5 separate regions of the Homo sapiens genome follow, and all the other regions are linked to region 1. Evidence: promoter capture Hi-C in human tissues and cell types (Jung and others, 2019). All regions are on one chromosome and are shown on one strand. The core of a region is centred on a gene start or on the middle of the fragment in contact, and the rest is flanking DNA. Distances in the headings are between cores, read along the strand shown. Region 1 holds the start of ELP6 (elongator acetyltransferase complex subunit 6). Region 2 overlaps MAP4 (microtubule associated protein 4). Region 3 overlaps SETD2 (SET domain containing 2, histone lysine methyltransferase). Region 4 overlaps SETD2 (SET domain containing 2, histone lysine methyltransferase). Region 5 overlaps KIF9-AS1 (KIF9 antisense RNA 1).

Region 1 (3,668 bases), core at 728-3,227:
CCAATGGCCCTGCTTCAGAGGCCTGATCATGGAGAGCTCTAGAAAGACCTCTAAGGGTGGTCTCTGCAGAGCCTGACTGTCCTGCTCCATTCACCTCTATTTCTGTCAGTGACAGGGAAGGTCAGGATCAAGTGATATCATGCATGCCACCTCCTTGCCGTGTGACCTTCCACAAATGCCTTAACTTCTCTGGGCTTCAGGTTTTTTCACTTACAAAATGTGAAAGATCACATCGTCAGACCTTCAGTGTTACCCCTAGTGCTGTCATTTCCTGGTGCCCACTTGATTACTCCATTCTTTCACCTGGCCCTAGGCTGACTTTGGAAGTGCCAGTGGTAACTGGCAAGGTAATCAGAGTCATCTGGACAAGAACTGCCTGGCAACTAAAATCCACAAGGATCTACTGAAAGCTACAATTTGGCGCTATGGGGTCATAAAAAGGCTTTAGACACTTAGTATCCTGGTTGCCTGGAGGAGTTTACCATTTCATTAGGAAGACAAAGATTATGAATAAACCAGGCTGGGCGTGGTGGCTCACGCCTGTAATCCCAGCACTTTGGGAGGCAGAGGCGGGCGGATCACCTGAGGTCAGGAGTTCCAGACCAGCCTGGCCAACATGGTGAAACCCCGTCTCTAACAAAAAATACAAAAAAAAATCAGCCAAGTAATTAGCCCGGTGTGGTAGCGCACGCCTGCAATCCCAGCTACTTGGGAGGCTGAATAAGGAGAATCACTTGAACCCGGGAGGTGAGGTTGCAGGGAGCCGAGATCGCGCCAGTGCACTCCAGCCCAGGCGAGGGAGCGAGACTCCATCAAAAATAAATAAATAAATAAATAAGCCAAAAGATACACTCCTGAAAGAGGTTACTCCTACGTTAAAATGTGAAAGGTTTCAAGGTACCCCGGAGTGTGAGGAGGGTGGAGAGAACAGGCCAGCCTGGGGTGCCCAAGACGGACTTGGTCCAAGCCAATTTGGCTCTGTCCTGCTTCTAACAGTTCTATTAGAGATCACAAGGAGGAAGAGTAAGAAGAACAGCAGCGTTCAATACAATGTGCCAATTGCTCCGGGGCGAGGTGGCGGTTAGGAAGCTCGCCCATGAAGACGGCGGCGAAACGAACTCCCCTCTCCTCTCGGGCCTATTCTGCAGTCTCCTCTGAGCGCCTGGGACCCCCCACCCCAGTGAACATGCACAGCGCGCCACAGTTCACGTCCGCGAATATAACCCAACCCCACTGTCGGCCATGCTTCCCAGGTACTTTTTTTTTTTTTTTTTGAGGTGGAGTCCCGCTCTGTCGCCCAGGCTGGAGTGCGGTGGCGAGATCTCGGGTCACTGCAACCTCCGCCTCCCGGGTTCAAGCAATTCTCCTGTCTCAGCCTCCCGAGTAGCTGAGATTACAGGCATGAGCCACCACGCCCGGCTAATTTTTGTATTTTTCGTAGAGACGGGGGTTTCACCATCTTGGCCAGACTTGTCTCGAACTCTTGACCTTAGATGATGCACCCGCCTCGGCCTCCCAAACTGCTGGGATTACAGGGGTGAGCCACCGCGCCCGGCCGCTTCCCAGGGACTTTTAAGGACACGCACAGCCGTTGAGAATATGCGAGATGGCCCAGAAGCCCACTTTCGGCGGGCCCAAGCCTCCAGTCCAATCCCCGGGTCGATCCTCTGCGGACTACAACTCCCAGGTACCCCGTGCCGGGTCGTCGCGCCATTCCCCGGGGTCGTGCGCACCGCCTCCCGGATGCAGTATTCCGCTGCCCTGCCAGGTCCCGCCCCCTTCCGGCCAGCGGGACCTCTTACCTGCTCCGCCCTGTCGGGGGTGGTGTTAAGCAGGTTATTAAGTTCCACGAACATTCCGAGCTCCTGGGACTAGCGCTCTGGAGGAGAACCCGGAGTGCTGCAGAGACGACGGAGGCTGGAGAGCAAAACACACCCGACAGCCCGGCTCGCGCAAGGAAGCGCGCATGCGCAATGCCACTTTTGCGAGCCAGCCACAGCCAATGAGGCGGGTGCCTCGATGGGACCGCTGCGCACGCGCGTAGACGTCCGTCGAGTCCCAGGTGGTAGGAAACGATGGGCTTCTCTGTGCGACTGCCAGCGGCCTCTGGCGGCTCATTCCGCGCAGATCTGCGTGGCGCCCGAGCCCTCCCAGTGGGCCCCCAAGGCTCCACGCGACCGAGTATTCTTCTTCCCTTGGCCTCGCTCTCTGCCCAGCCCCGGGCTCCTTTTCTCCACACGTGGCTGTCAAGCGCCTTCTGTATGCCCCACACTCCTGGGAGCTTGGGCTACATCGATGAACAAAAACAAAGGACAGGGAATTTATTATTATTATTATTATTATTATTATTATTATTATTATTTAATTGAGACGGAGTCTTGCCCTGTCGCCCAGGCTGGAGTGCAGTGGCGCGATCTCGGCTCACTACAGTCTCCGCCTCCTGGGTTCACGCCATTCTCCTGCCTCAGCCTCCCGAGTGTAGCTGGGACTACAGGCGCCCGCCACCACGCCCGGCTAATTTTTTGTATTTTTAGTAGAGACGGGGTTTCACCGTGTTAGCCAGGATGGTCTTGATCTCCCGACCTCGTGATCCGCCGGCCTCGGCCTCCCAAAGTGCTGGGATTACAGGCATGAGCCACCACGCCCGGCCGACACGGAATTATATCTTGAAAAGTTGTGTGGAGAAAAGCAAAGTGGGATTAGAGAGTACCAATGGGGGCAGGGGTAGGTTCCAGAATTAAAGAGGTTGTCAGGGTGGGTCTCACTAAGAAAGTGTGGTTGCGGCTGGGCGCGGTGGCTCACACCTGTAATGCCAGCACTTTGGGAGGCCTAGACGGAGGGATCACGAGGTCAGGAGTTCGAGACTAGCCTGGCCAATATAGTGAAACCCCCTTCTCTATTAAAAATACAAAAAATTAGCCTGGCGTGGTGGGGGGCGCCTGTCATCCCAGCCACTCGGGAGGCTGAGCCAGTAGAATCGCTTGAACCTGGGAGGCAGAGGTTGCAGTAAGCCGAGATCACGCCATTGCTCTCTAGCCTGGGCAGCAGTGTGAGACTTCGTTAAAAAACAGTGTGGTTGCAACACGCCCTGTATGCCTGTCCTCAGAGCCTTTATACTAACTCTTCCCTCTTCCTGGAATGCCCCTTTTCCCAGATATTAAGCTGATTTTAAAATTCCCCACTTCCTTCAGGTCTCTGCTCCGATGTCACTTTATTCGTGAGGCCTTCCCTGAGCACCTTACTTAAATCACAAACTGTCCCTTTCCCAACACTTCTTTTTCCTTGCTTTTATTTTTTTCCATAACATTTATATCTATTATACCGTATATAGTTTTGTTCTAGCCCAATCAGCCTCAGATCAGTGGACAAACCTGTAATTCCACCAAAGTCAAGTTTATTGACAGTCACTAAAATAATTGTTATATGATTTGGGAAAGAGTCGAATTCAGGTGAAATTTAAGTGAACCGGTGTTTGATATGCTCAAAGCACAGCACAGCTGTGTGTGGAGTCCTAATCTGGCGTGGACTGCAAAGGGGACCCAGGGTCATTTCTGTGGAAACTACAAGGTTAAGATCGATGTGGAATGTAATCGTTAGCTGAAGCTCTGCACCTGGGATGGAAATCAAGGCTGCTTCTCTGTGTCAAAGGGATGTAGATCCTTCAGCCA
Region 2 (3,668 bases), core at 542-3,041, 480 kb after region 1:
GTTTAGAATGTTCTCCAGGAAAAACACAAATATGAAACCTGTCATTATGGCAAAAACCATCAGTCCGATAATGTATAAAAATCAGACCCACAGCAGAGAAGTCTCCATTCATAAAGAACTCACTAATTGCACCAGATTTCTACAAGACTAAATAAGGCGGCTTCCTTCGTTTTTCTTATTTGATGTCTCCAAACAGCCATCACCCCTTCCTTTAAGTTAAGACTTCTACAACTTTTAGGAAGCTGGTATGGAAAAAATGTAGTAATTTACAACCTATCATAATTATAAACTTTATTATTATTATTATTTTTAGAGACGGGGTCTCTCTCTGTCACCCAGGCTGCAGCACAGTGGTGCTTTTATGGCTCACTGCAGCCTCGACCTCTGGGGCTCAAGTGATTGCCTCCTACCTCAGCTTCCTGTGTAGCTCGGACTACAGGCGCACACTACCACGCCCAGCTATAATTATAAACTTTAAACATGGTATCTTCAACAAGTTCGTGGAAAATGCATTCTATGAAAAAATTATTCATGGATTTCAAGGGAGTTTTTTTGTATCAAAATAACTCATACTCCAGCCTGACCAATATGGCGAAACCCCATCTCTACTAAAAATACAAAAATTAGCTGGGCATGGTAGCATGTGCCTATAAGCCCAGCTACTCAGGAGGCTGAGGCAGGAGAATCTCTTGAACACAGGAGGTAGAGGTTGCAGTGAGCCGAGACTGTGCCACCGCACTCCAGCCTGGGTGACAGAGAGACACTCCATCTTAAAAAAAAAAAAAAAAAGCTCATACTAACTTGTTATAACACGTCTGAACAGGATCTAGTTTGAAGCACTAAAAAGGATAAAACATCAGTTTGAAAAGAGCCCCTAATAAAGCAACATGAATTCTGCTAAAATTGAAGCAAAAGCAAATGGTAAATTTATGGTGAAGCTTGGATGAAAGAATGGTGAAATCACTGATGCTTTGTGTAAAGTTTATGGGGACAATGCCCCAAACAAATCAGTAGTTTACACATGAATAACTTGTTTTAAGACATCAGCCAGATGCAGTGGTCCGCACCTATAGTCCCAGCTACTTGGAAGGCTGAGACAGGAGGATCACTTGAGCCCAGGAGTTCAAGGCTGTAGTGTGCTATGGTTACACCTGTAAATAGTCACTATACTCTAATTTGGGCAATGTAGTAAGACTCTGTCTCAAAAAAAGAAAAAAAATAAAGGAGGAGATGATGTTGAAGATGAAGCCCACCGTGGCAGACCACCAATATCAATTTGAGAGGAAAAAAGAATGATCTAATTGAAGAGGATTGACAATTAGCAGAAACAATAGCCAATACCACAGACATCTCAATTGGTTCAGTTTATACAATTTTGGCTGATAAATTAAAATTGAGCAAACTTTCCACTCAACTGGTGCCAAAATGGTTGCATCCAGATGAGCTGCAAAGAGCAGAGCTTTCGATGTAAATTTTAAACAAGTGGGATCAAGATCCTGAAGCATTTCTTTGAAGAATTGTAACAGGAGATGAAATATGGTTTTACCAGTATAATCCTAAAGACAAAGCACAATCAAAGCAATGGCTACCAAGAGGCGTAAGTGCTGTAGTCAAAGCAAAAGTGGATCAGTCAAGAGCAAACACAAGAGTTTTTTAGGATGCTCAAAGCACTTTGTCTGTTGACTTTCTGGAGAGCCAAAGAATGACAACATCTTATTATGAGGGTGTTTTGAGAAAGTCAGCCAATGCTTTAGCAGAAAAACAGCCAGGAAAGCTTCATCAGAGAGTCCTTCTCCACCAGGACAATGCTCCTGTTCATTCCTTTCATCAACAAAGATAATTTGTGACAGTTTTGATGAGAAATCATTAGGCAACCACCTTACAACAGTCCTGATTTGGTTCCTTCTTTTTTGTTTCCTAATCTTTAAAAAAATCTTTGGTAGCAACAAAAAATTAAAAACTTAAACCAAAAAAAACTTTAAAGGGCATCCATTTTTCTTCATTTCTTCATTTTTCTTCATTTAATAATGTAAAAAAGCCAGGCACAGTGGCTCACACCTATAATCCCAGCACAAAAGAAAAACAAATATTTACTCCAAAAAATTTGGATTCCTTAATGGAAAACGGGAAAATCTATTCTCTCTTAATCCATAATGCACGGTGGAGACATTTGTTCTTTGACTGACTAACATAAACAAAGAAAACCTAGTATGAAGAAAGGAATGATAAGATGTAAATATGGTAGCAACTAGTCATGGTTGAGATGCTCTTCCCATCCTAATATTAACTTACCCTCATCAGTCATAGGTGAAAGAAGCTAGCTGCTTTTCGTTTTCTAATTTCCTTTAACTGTGCATTGTTTCCATCATCTGGGAATGAGCCTAGGTGGATAAGGACAGTGAGGTGGTAGCAGTAGATTTTCTTGTGCTTCATCTTGAGTTATTTGATCCATGTAACATTAACTTGGCCCAAGAGGAGGAAAGTTTTTAAGACATTATTTTATTTATAAAAAATTAAATCCTCCCTGCTACTTTTGATATGTAAATGGTGGCTCATGCCTGTAATCCCAGCACTTTGGGAGGCCAAGGCAAGTGGATCACCTGAGGTCAGGAGTTTGAGACCAGCCTGGCCAACAGGGCGAAACCCCATCTCTACTAAAAATACAAAAATTAGCCAGGCATGGTGGTGCAGGCCTGTAATCCCAGCTACTGGGGTGTTGAGGCAGGAGGATCGCTTGAACCTGGGAGGCGGAGGATGCAGTGAGCAGAGATCGTGCCACTGCACTCCAGCCTGTGCAATAGAGCGGGACTCCATCTCAAAAAAAAAAAAAAAAAGTTCATTAACTCAGAAAGACTACTCCAGAAATTGGCGAGTGGTTACTCCAGGAAGGAGAACTGTCTGGCTAGGGTGTAGGGATTGGGAGAATTTGTTTTACCGTACATCCCTTTGGACCAATTGGATTTTGTACATGTGTATTTTTTAGCCTGTTCAAAAAATGTATGAGTTTCTGGAAAATTGAATTAAAGGATAAAAATAAAATATGAACTTTACTTCTCAACATAAGCTTTTGCAACATCAAGATACTTTTGTAAGCAATGATAGCAACTTTTTTTCTTTTCTTTTTTTTTTTTTTTTTTGAGACAGAGTCTCGTTCTCTCGCCCAGGCTGGAGTGCAGTGGCACGCTCTCCACTCACTGCCACCTCCGCCTCCCAGGTTCAAGTGATTCTTGTACCTCAGCCTCCTGAGTACCTGGGATTACAGGTGCACACCATTACCCCTGGCTAATTTTTGTATTTTTAGTAGAGGTATGGTTTCACCATGTTGGCCAGGCTGGTCTCAAACTCCTGACCTCAGGTGAGCCACCTGCCTTGGTCTCCCAAAGTGCTGGGATTACAGGCGTGAGCCACTGCACCTGGTCTGGAGTAAATATTTATATGGATATAATTAGAACTCTCGGTACTTTTTTAAATGAGTTGTGGTCTGCCCCCCCTCCCCAACACACAAATTAAACATATATTAAGGAAGCAGGTTTTCTTCTTCCACTTGGCTGTAGAAAGCCAAAAGCAACGTCACTCCCACCCTAACAACAAGAAACAGCCATATCAACTACAAAAAACTTGAATTAATTGGAAAGCCACCTAGTAGTATGAAATCCAAAGAAAAACAA
Region 3 (3,668 bases), core at 560-3,059, 460 kb before region 1:
ACAATGCCACGCTGCTCTTTTCAGGAAGGCTTTTGCTACCAACTTGTAATAACAAACAGGTTGTTTGGATCAGAAAAGGTCAAAGGGTGTGAATCATAGTAAATAAGATGATCAAATTTTAAGCTACCTTTTGTTTTAGCTTTTTGTAGTCTTCTATGATAAAACCCCTTGGCAGAAAGCAGAATCAATGCATCTGAAATTCTCACAACACACCAATTTATACAGTGTTCTATGATGCAAGAAGCCCCTTAACATACATCATCTCATTTAGTGCTGACCACCATCAAAACCAGGTACTGCCCATGCCTGGAGTTTCATAAGAAATAAGTACTATGCTAGGGCTTAAACCTACTCTGTAATTATTTCTCAAGCATAGAAAATCTGCTTAAATAAGAAGAGGTGATAAGAAGACTGAAAAATAGCCTTGCTGTCCTAAGAGGTGGTGACTGTTAAGGAATTGAATAGACATGTATCCTGTGCTTAAGGAGAGATTTTGCTCCTATGGACTGAGATTCTAGCAGGTAAAATGATTACAGAAACATCAAATGCTAAGTACTCAAAATACAAAATATAATTCCAAATGACACCAGTAAAAACTCAAGTAGTCTGAATAGGCAATGCAGCTATCTAGCAGGTTTCTGAATGAATAATTACTGACAGGACACAGGAAAAAGGAAAAGAACACTTAATTTGGTATTCTGGATCAGCTTAATCTACTTGGATAATAAACCAGACTGAAAAACATTAATTGTTAAGGCAGAATTACCATCAGAATAGTATCACAAAGCCTGAGAGGAAAATGTACAGTCATGTATTGCTTAACAAGGGGGGTACATTCTGAGAAATGCATTGTTAGGAGATTTCATTGTTGTGGTAACATCATATAATGTACTTTCACAAACCTACTAAGTGTATGAGGTACTTACACATCATACAGTGTACTTCACAAATCTATTAGATACCTAGGCTATATGGTATAGTCTGTTGTTCCTAGGCTACAAACCTGTACAGCATGTTTCTGTAATAAAGACTTGTAAGCAACTATAACTTAACAGTATCTGTGTATCTAAACATGGAAAAGTTACAGTAAAAATACAGTATAAAAATTTTTTAGGCCGGGGCACGGTGGCTCACACCTGCAACCCGAGCACTTTGGGAGGCCAAAGTGGGCGGATCACGAGGTCAGGAGATCGAGACCATCCTGGCTAACACGGTGAAATCCCATCTCTACTAAAAATACAAAAAATTAGCCAGGCATGGTGGCATGCACCTGTAGTCCCAGCCACTCAGGAGGCTGAGGCAGAAGAATCGCTTGAACCCAGGAGGTAGAGGTTGCAGTGAACCGAGATGGCACCACTGCACTCCAGCCTGGGCAACAGAGCGAGATGCCGTCTCAAAAAAACAAAATTTAAATGGTACACCTGTATAGGGAACTAACTATAAACAAAGCTTGCAGGACTGGAAGTTGCTTTGAGTAAGTGAGTGGTGAGTGAGTGAATATGAAGGCCTAGGACATTACTGTACACTACTGTAGACTATAAACACTTGGGCTACACTAAGTTTATTAACATTTTTTTAATAAATTAACTGTAACTTACTATAACTTTTTTACTTTATAAACAAATTTTTTCAACTTTTTAACTCTTTTATAACACTTATCTTAAAATACAAACACATTCTACAGCTGTATAAACAACCCTCCTCCCTCCTCCTCGCCAGGGTGGAGAGCAGTGGTGCGATCTGGGCTCACTGCAACCTCCACCTCCCGGGTTCAAGCAATTCTCCTGCCTCAGCCTCCCGAGTACCTGGGACTACAGGTGCGTGCCACCACGCCTGGCTAATTTTTTTTATTTTAGCAGAGACGGGGTTTCACCATGTTGGCCAGGATGGTCTCCATCTCCTAACCTTGTGATCTGCCCACCTCAGCCTCCCAAAGTGCTGGGATTACAGGTGTGAGCCACCGTGCCTGGCCTATATTTTTTTTAAAAAAGAGTCTCATTCTGTCACCCAGGCTGGAATGCAGTAGTGTGATCATAGCTTACTGTAGCCTTGAACTCCTGGACTGAAGCAATCCTCCCATCTCAGCCTCCCGAGTATGTGCCACCACGCCCAGCTAATTAAAAACAAATTTGTAGAGACAGGGTTTCGCTATGTTGTCTAGGCTAGTCTTGAACTCTTGTGTTTGAGTGATTCTCCTGCCTTGGCCTCCCAGATTGCTGGGATTACAGATGTGAGACAACACACTGGGCCAAATATTTTTTTTATATCCTTATTCTTATTCTATAAGTTTTTTATAGAATAAGTTTTCTAAATATATATATATATATATATATATATATATATATATATATATATGTATTCTTATATATATAAACTTATTCTTTTTTTTTTTTTTTTGAGACAGAGTCTGGCTCTGTCGCCCAGGCTGGAGTGCAGTGGCACGACCTCGGCTCACTGCAAGCTCCGCCTCCCGGGTTCACGCCATTCTCCTGCCTCAGCCTCCCGAGTAGCTGGGACTACAGGTGCCCACCACCACACCTGGCTAATTTTTTGTATTTTTAGTAGAGATGGGGTTTCACCTTGTTAGCCAGGATGGCCTCGATCTCCTGACCTTGTGATCCGCCCGCCTCAGCCTCCCAAAGTGCTGGGATTACAGGTGTGAGCCACCGCGCCTGGCCTATATATAAACTTATTCTATGAGTTTATATTATATATTAAATATATAAACTTATTCTGAGTTTATATTATATATTATATATATAAACTTATTCTATGAGTTTATATTATTATATATAAACTTATTCTGAGTTTATATTATATATATTATATATATAAACTTATTCTGAGTTTATATTATATATAATATATAAATTTATTCTGAGTTTATAGTATATATTATATATATAAACTTATTCTGAATTTATATATTATATATAAACTTATTCTATAAGTTTATATATTTGTACATATATTTATATGTTTTTCTTATATATATAAATTTATGTTTCTTATATATATAAACATATATATATATGGGAAAAACATACATTTTGATAGAGGAAACATGACCAAGTATTTCATAGATCAGTAAGGTATCTATATTTTAGAATAATCTTATTGTATATTTCAAAATAGCTAGAAGAGAATAATTGAATGTTTCTAGCATAAAGAAAAGACAAATATTTATGGTGATGGATATCTCAATACACTGATTTTTACAAATTATATGAATATATTAAATTATCACATGTACCCTGAAAATATGTACACCTATTATGTATCAACATAAAAAAACAAAAACTAAGATATAAACACACACACTAGCCTAGGCTTACACGGAGTCAGGATCATCAAGATGTCAGAAGGCCAGAAGAATTTTTCACCTCCATAATAATCTTACGAGGATCACTGTCATAAATGCCATCTGTTGTTGACCAAAACGCCATTGCATGGCACATGATTGTATTTATGTACAGGCTGAGCATAAACATTTCTGATTTCCCTAATCAGAAATCCCAAATGCTACAAAATATGAAACTTTTTGAGCGTCCACATGGTGCTCAAAGGAAATACTCGCTGGAATATTTTGGATTTTGACTTAGGGATGCTCTACCACTAAGTATATATAACGTAAATATTCCCAAATCTGAAAAAAATCCGAAATACAA
Region 4 (3,668 bases), core at 757-3,256, 450 kb before region 1:
GCCTCCCTGCTATCCATTCTGAAACAATGATTCTAACTTTTTCAGGGGTGACTGAGAATCTGATCAAAGTTTTGAACTTGCCTCAGAAAAGTAAATACAGTCAACCCTTGAACAACATGAGTTTGAACTGGATGAAAGTCCACTTATATGTGGATTTTCTTCTAACTGTGCCACCCAAGACAGCAAGACTAATCCCTCTTCTTCCTCGTCAGTCTGCTCAAGGTGAAGATAAGGATGAAGACCTCTATGATGATCTATTTCCACTTAATGAAGAGTAAATATATTTTCTCTTATGATTTTCTTAATAACATTTTTATCTAGCTTACTTTATTTTAAGAATACAGTTACATAATACACATAACATACATAATATGAGGAGTCAAAAGTTATGTGGAATTTCGACGCACAGGGTATCTGTATCTCCTATGTTGTTCAAGGGTCAACTGTGTACATACAGAATTTTACATGTAAACATCTTTTTTCCTTTTAGAGACAGGGCCTCACTTTGTTGCTCAGGCTGGAGTACAGTGGCACGATCATGGCTCACTGCAGCCTCAATCTCCTAGGCTCAGGTGATCCTCCTACCTCAGCCTCCTGGTAATTAGGATTATAGGCACACACCACCACACTTAGCTAATATTTTTGTATTTTTTGTAGAGACAGGGTTTCACCATGTTTCCCAGGCTGGTCTCAAACTCTTGGGCTCAAGCAATCCACCTGCTTCAACTTCCCAAAGTGCTAGGATTACAGGTGTGAGCCACCCTGCCCAGCTGCATATAAATATCTTGAGGTAAAGACCCTCCCAAAGACATCTAGAAGTATAGGTTTAAGAATGTCTGCTCTATCTGGTGCGAAGGAAAAAAAAAATCAAAATCACAATAATAAAAGAAAAAAAGACTAAATAAAAAAAATAAAGAATGTCTGCTCTAGAGGACAAACGAATAGAAAAAAAGCTAGTAAAGACTGAGTTCAAGGAAAGCGACAACAAAACAGTGTAAGAGACATTTCCTTTGGCAAAATGCATTAAGAATAAAAGCACAAGTTTCCAAACTTTTACACCAAATATTTCATTTACCTAGTTATATATTCTCTAGTTTCAAAAACAAAAACGCTTAAGTTCTTATCAGTTACCTCTGCACATAACAAAAGAATATTTGTAAAGCCATCAACACAGAGTATCTCTGAATACCTACTTGTGTTTTCCTTTTCAGTTTGACTTTTCTTTGGAATTCGATATACCTCCTGCAAAAAATAAACCAGAGGGAGGGTTATTAGTGAGGGTGGAAATGGTGATTGCTTTGAAACTGACTGTTTTCACATGACAATAAAGAAATGGAAAGTAACAAGCTGGTACTTATTCTCTAAAATTTGACTTATATCTGGGCTTTAAATAAGAATATATCCTGGCCCCTTAAAAACAAGAAAAAATATATAGCAGAAATACATATATTTACATCTATCAAGCTTGTACGATCTCACTAGCAAAGCAGCATACTAAATGACTGGGCAAGGATACGCTTCCTGAGCATCTTTTTTTTTTTTTTTTTTTTTTTTTTGAGACAAGGTCTTGCTCTGTCACCCAGGCTGAAGGGCAGTGGCATGATCTCGGCTCACTGCAACCTCTGCCTCCCAGGCACAAGCAATCCTTCTGCCCCAGCCTCCCAAGTAGCTGGGACCACAGGTGGATGCCACCATGCCCCGCTAATTTTTTCTATTTTTGTAGAGATGGGGTTTTATCACATTGCCCAGGCTGGTCTCGAACTCCTGGGCTCAAGCAATCTACTCAGCCTCCCAAAGTGCTGGGATTACAGGCGTGAGCCACCATGCCTGGCCAAGTATTCATAATTCTAATGTGCACTTGCCATCTCTACTTAGAGAAAGAAAAGGTTAATAACTACCCAGTTATATAAAAACACTTCAGAAAAATTGTATGTGTAAAGACAATTCCTACTATTCAGTGTATTTTTCTATAAATGCAAAACCAACATGACTAATGGCCAATGTAATATCTACTTTCACATTGTGTTTGTTATAAAAAATAAAAAATATAAAGGATAAGCATTAGATCACTGCTCCTCTTGATCACTGTACCAAAATTGATCCTGAGAAATGTGAACTGTTTTAAAGGCTTTTAAGTACCTTTTCTTGTGTTATCTAAGGCCTAGAACCTATTTTGTTCTTTAACAGCTCTTCACTATTCCACCGTCCATCGAGTAACTATTGGGCACAATACTTTCTTATCCAGTCATCTTAAGTGGGACAGTAACAAGCCTACACACTCTCAATAGTACATAAGGTGATATCATCCCTTCAGAGGAATCTCATAATATTAACCACACCTGTGGCCTCCTCTCCACAATTGTTGCTTCTCACAATATTTGTGAAAAATAATAAGCCACATGTCACACAACTGAGGAAAGGTCATGATGTAATATTCAGTTGCCATTAAAAAGGATCAATATGGACTGCACAGATCCAGGGAAATCTATATAAATGAAAAATTTTTTTAAACCTCCAATACTATATGCATGCTGACAAATTAATAAAGATGATTATAATTAATTGTGCACTTATACTGTGTGCCAGATATCATGCTGAACATTTCAAATACACTATCTTTTTTTTTTTTTTTTTTTTTGAGACGGAGTCTTGCTCTGTCATCCAGGCTGGGGTAAAGCGGCACAATCTCAGCTTACTGCAACCTCTGCCTCCTGGGTTCAAGCAATTCTCCTGCCTCAGCCTCCTGAGTAGCAGGGATTATAGGCACACACCACCATGCCCAGCTAATTTTTGTATTTTTAGTAAAGACAGGGTTTCACCATGTTAGCCAGGTTGGTCTCGAACTCCTGATCTCATGATCTTCCCACCCTGGCCTCCCAAAGTGCTAGGATTACAGGCGTAAGCCACTGCGCCCGGCCTATCTTTTTGTTTTGTTTTGTTTTTTGAACCGGGGTCTCTGTCGCACAGGCTGGAGTGCAGTGGTGCGATCTCAGCTCATTGCAACCTCCACCTCCCAGGTTCAAGCGATTCTCCTTAGCCTCCCCAGTAACTGGGATTACAGGTGCATGCCACCATGCTTGGCTAATTTTTGTATTTTTAGTAGAGATGGGGTTTCATCATGTTGGCCAGACTGGTCTCGAACTCCTGACCTCATGATCTGCCCACCTTGGCCTCCCAAAGTTCTGGGATTACAGATGTGAGCCACCGCACCCGGCCCTTCAAATACATTATCTTATTTGAGCTTCAAAACGACCCTATGAGGTAAGTACTATTACCTCAATTTTCCAAAAAGGAAACTTACTTAAAAAGCTTAGCAATCTACCCAAGGTTATGATGCTACCAGACAGTCTAACTCAAGAGCACTTTTATCTTCTGTATTAGATGACACAGGACATGCCTAACAACATTATTTTGAGAAGGAGTACCATTCTGAGATTTATGCACAAATGCAGGTGACATCCTCCATCCCCTTAACCTCTCCTTCCTATGTAGAAGAACTTTCATTAGAGCTGTGATTCTCTACCCTGGTTGTACAATTAAACCACCCAAGAAGCGTTCATGGAAATACCACCCCAGACAAAGTGAATCTAAATCTCTGGATGTGGATGCCAGACATGCGTATTTTTTAGAAGCTCCTCAGATGATTCTGATGCACAGAGAAGGCTGAG
Region 5 (3,668 bases), core at 560-3,059, 340 kb before region 1:
GAAGAATCTAGAAAACAATGCACAACCTACATTGAGCTCCACCTCCTATAATTCCTATTAGATGTTATTTGTATCAAGTCAGCACCCTCCTACATAGTATTATTATACTCTGTAGTTGTTTTTCCTATACAGATAATCTTTCTGTTACATATTGCTTTGTTAACAGATTTTAATTACATAATATATCTATCTTACCAACTTTATAAGTTTGTTGTAGGCAGAAGCAATCTGTCTTTCCTATTTTATAGTGTTTGAGGCTGTAGGTAGCAAGTGTTGAATGAATAACTACTTTGTTACTTCTGAAAAGCTTACTTTTTGATTAATACTTTTCCTTTTTACCAATTCCTTTTTCTTTTTTTTTCAGGCTCATCCATGGAATACCAATTCTTTTTCTTAGTGTTCACATTGGATTTTTCTGTTAAAAATAGATTGTTGGAGTTGGCTAACAAGTTGATTACTTCCAGTCAGGCACTCTCTTCTGTAAAGTCTCTTTTGTAAACTCCTACAAGCAGCTATTTCACTGGATTTGAAAAGACTGACTAAAAAGAACCATGCACTGTAACTCTCAAGTATACAGGAATATTGTTATTAGGTAATTTTTTTTTTCAATATGTGTTAACCTTGTCTTCCCTACAATTTTCTTTTTCTTTTTTTTTTTTTTTTGAGATGGAATCTCACTCTGTCGCCCAGGCTGGAGTGCGGTGGCACAATCTCAGCTCACTGCAACCTCTACTGCCTGGGTTCAAGCGATTCTCCTGCCTCAGCCTCCTGAGTAGCTGGGATTACAGACGCGCGCCACCATACCCAGCTAATTTTTTGTATCTTTAGTAGAGACGGGGTTTCACCATCTTGGCCAGGCTGGTCTTGAACTCCTGACCTTGTGATCCACCCGCCTCAGCCTCCCAAAGTGCTGGGATTACAGGCATGAGCCACGGCGCCCAGCCTCCCTACAGTTTTCAAACATTCAGAGAGGTGATTATGGTGTATCTTTTATTCTGTTTTGCTTTGGATCTTGGCGTTCTTCTAGAGAACTCATCTGCTCAGGAGCTTCTCAGTGCATCTTCCCTCCCAAACTTGTCTTACCCAGCAGAGAATGAATGTACTCAAGATTACCAGTTTTGCAGATGAATAAACCAATGATTCCAGAGGTTATGGTGCATATCTAGAGTCACATGACTAAGAAATGATAAAACCAGGATTTCAGCCAGGTTATCTGTTTCAAGACATTTTCAGACAAAAAAATCTGGAGTTTGCCACCAACAAGAAATGATCCTAGCCTCAGCATCTCAGCCCACACTGGGAGTGTCAGGTGCTGAAAAAAAATTTTTTTAATTTTACATAGTAAATAATTTTATAAAAAAGAAAGAAATGATCCCTTATACAAGAAGGAATGATAAAAATATTAGTAAATAAGTGGTTAAAACTAAAAACTTTTTACCATACAAAGTAATAGTAAGTAATTTGTGTGGTTAATAAGGTAAAGCAAGATGGAACTGATACTCTGGACAACAAAGTCATATATTTAGAAGCAGGATGAGTGGAGTGATGGTTGGAGTTGAAGTTTTCCAAGGTCCTGGTATTGTTTGGGAAGTGGGTAAAAATATTGATTAACTTTAACCTTTACTCTTTTAAGTGTATAAGATAAAATATGTAGGGTAACTGCTTTTCCAAATTAACAGAAGAAAATAGAATAAAGAAAAATACAAAAAAAAAGGCCGAGCATGGTGGCTCACGCCTGTAATCCCAGCACTTTGAGATGCTGAGGCGGAAGGATTGCTTGAGACCAGGAGTTTAAGACCAGCCTGTGCAACATAGCCAGACTCCCTCCCAGCTCTACAAAAAACAAAAGAGATTAGCCAGCTGTGGTGGTGCACACCTATAGTCCCAGCTACTTGGGAGGCTGAGGCAGGGGGAATACATTTCAGTTTTAAAGAGTGCAAAATGGACAAGAAAATAAAACTTAGGCCAGGTATGGTGGCTCACGCCTGTAATCCCAGCACTTTGGGAGGCTCAGGCAGGTGAATTGCTTTAACTAAGGGGCTCAAGACCACCCTGGACAACATGATGAAACCCCATCTCTACCTAAAATACAAAAAAATTGGCTGGGTGCGGTGGCTCACACCTGTAATCCTAGCACTTTGGGAGGCTGAGATGGGCAGATCACCTGAGGTCAAGAGTTCAAGACCAGCCTGCCCAACATGGCAAAACCCCATCTCTACTAAAAATACAAAAATTACCCGGGCATGCTGGCATGTGCCTGTAATCCCAGCTACTTAGGAGGTTGAGGCAGGAGAATCACTTGAACTCAGGAGACGGAGGTTGCAGTGAGCCGAGATCACGCCACTGCACTCCAGCCAGAGCAAGACTCCATCTCAAAAAAATTAGCCAGACATCATGGCACATGCCTGTGGTCCCAGCTAGTCAGGAGGCTGAAGTGGGAGGATCTCTTGAGCCCAGGAGTTCAAAGTTACGGTGAGCAATGATCTTGCCACTGTACACCAGCCTAGATCACAAAGCAAGACTGTCTCTTTTAAAAAAAAAAGGCCAGGCATGGTGTCTCACACCTATAATCCTAGCACTTTGGGAGGCTGAGGTGGGCGGATTACTTGAAGTCAGGAGTTCGAGATCAGCCTGGCCAGCATGGTGAAACCCCTTCTCTACTAAAAATACAAAAATTAGCTAGGCATGGTTGCATGCACCTGTAGTCCCAGCTATTTGGGAGGCTGAAGCATGAGAATCGCTTGAACCTGGGAGGCAGAGTTTGCAGTGAGCTGAGATTATGCCACTGCGCTCCAGCCTGGGCAACAGAGCAAGATCCTGTCTCAACAAAAAACCATTTCACCTCTTTATGTGGCTTCTAGAAAATTTAAAATCACATTTGTGACTTCCATTTTATTTCTCTTGGACAGCACTGATCTAGGATATATATAGAACTAATGTAAGTGAATAAGAGAAAGACAACCCAGCTTTTTAAATTGGTAAATACCTCAGAAGAGGAAAAATTAATGTCCAGGAAACATTTGAAAAGCTGTTTCAGGGAAATCAGGGTGCTGGTCAGAGTGTTAATTGATACAATCATTTTGGAAAACAAGTTGGTTGGCATTACCTAGTAGAGTTGCATATGGGCATATCTTAAAACCCAACAATTGTTCTTAGATATACAAATTAAAACTCTTGCAAATATACACCAAAAGACATGTCTAGGAATGTCTGTAGCAGTATTGGCAAATGGGCAAATGTCTATCAACTATAGTATATATAATGAACTACTATTAAACAGCTTAAAAGGCAGGGTTTTGCATTTGTTGCTGAGGCAGGAGTATCACCTCAAACACTTGGGCTCAAGCGATCTTCCCACCTCAGTCACCCAAGTAGCTGGGACCACAGGTGTACTCCACCATGCCTGGATTTTTTTTTCCCCTGTCTTATGGTGCTGATGTATAATTGTTTTTTAGTTTTTTTAGAAACAGGGTCTCGCTATGTTGCCCAGGTTGGTCTTGAACTCCTGGCCTCAAGTGATCTTCCCACACTGGTGTCCCAAAGCATTGGGATTACAAGCATGTGCCACCAAGCCTGGCCATAACTGAAATTTTCAGCTATGCCTACCAAAATGGTAAAGTCTTGGGGACATAATAATGAACAGGAAATAAAAGGCATAGAATGTTTTT

Evidence for each region. Contacts are between HindIII fragments. The study calls those that stand out against the background at their distance.
Region 2: a fragment that was not itself captured here is called in contact with the fragment with the promoter of ELP6 in region 1 in 2 of the 25 tissues and cell types used here (dorsolateral prefrontal cortex and hippocampus).
Region 3: a fragment that was not itself captured here is called in contact with the fragment with the promoter of ELP6 in region 1 in 1 of the 25 tissues and cell types used here (adrenal gland).
Region 4: a contact is called between a fragment that was not itself captured here and the fragment with the promoter of ELP6 in region 1, in 1 of the 25 tissues and cell types used here (aorta).
Region 5: a fragment that was not itself captured here is called in contact with the fragment with the promoter of ELP6 in region 1 in 1 of the 25 tissues and cell types used here (dorsolateral prefrontal cortex).

Annotation. Positions count from the first base shown.
Region 1 is chr3:47,511,735-47,515,402 of GRCh38, forward strand. It overlaps ELP6 (elongator acetyltransferase complex subunit 6), which reads right to left and starts at 1,978. Exons shown (of 7, transcript NM_001031703.3): 1 at 1,803-1,978. The coding sequence starts at 1,856. RefSeq lists enhancers at 1,393-1,502, 1,833-1,942. The HindIII fragment of the contact is 13,702 bases long and covers 1-3,668 here.
Region 2 is chr3:47,992,132-47,995,799 of GRCh38, forward strand. The region is part of intron 2 of MAP4 (microtubule associated protein 4); the gene reads right to left. Among named protein-coding and RNA genes, the nearest start is that of MAP4, 22 kb to the right of the region's middle. The HindIII fragment of the contact is 4,265 bases long and covers 1-3,668 here.
Region 3 is chr3:47,046,994-47,050,661 of GRCh38, forward strand. The region is part of intron 15 of SETD2 (SET domain containing 2, histone lysine methyltransferase); the gene reads right to left. Among named protein-coding and RNA genes, the nearest start is that of NBEAL2, 69 kb to the left of the region's middle. The HindIII fragment of the contact is 6,243 bases long and covers 1-3,668 here.
Region 4 is chr3:47,065,877-47,069,544 of GRCh38, forward strand. It overlaps SETD2 (SET domain containing 2, histone lysine methyltransferase), which reads right to left. Exons shown (of 21, transcript NM_014159.7): 13 at 1,194-1,242. Among named protein-coding and RNA genes, the nearest start is that of NBEAL2, 88 kb to the left of the region's middle. RefSeq lists an enhancer at 1,541-2,146. The HindIII fragment of the contact is 3,352 bases long and covers 331-3,668 here.
Region 5 is chr3:47,168,805-47,172,472 of GRCh38, forward strand. KIF9-AS1 (KIF9 antisense RNA 1) reads left to right here. Exons shown (of 7, transcript NR_033373.1): 2 at 365-592. Among named protein-coding and RNA genes, the nearest start is that of KIF9-AS1, 6.3 kb to the left of the region's middle. The HindIII fragment of the contact is 5,548 bases long and covers 1-3,668 here.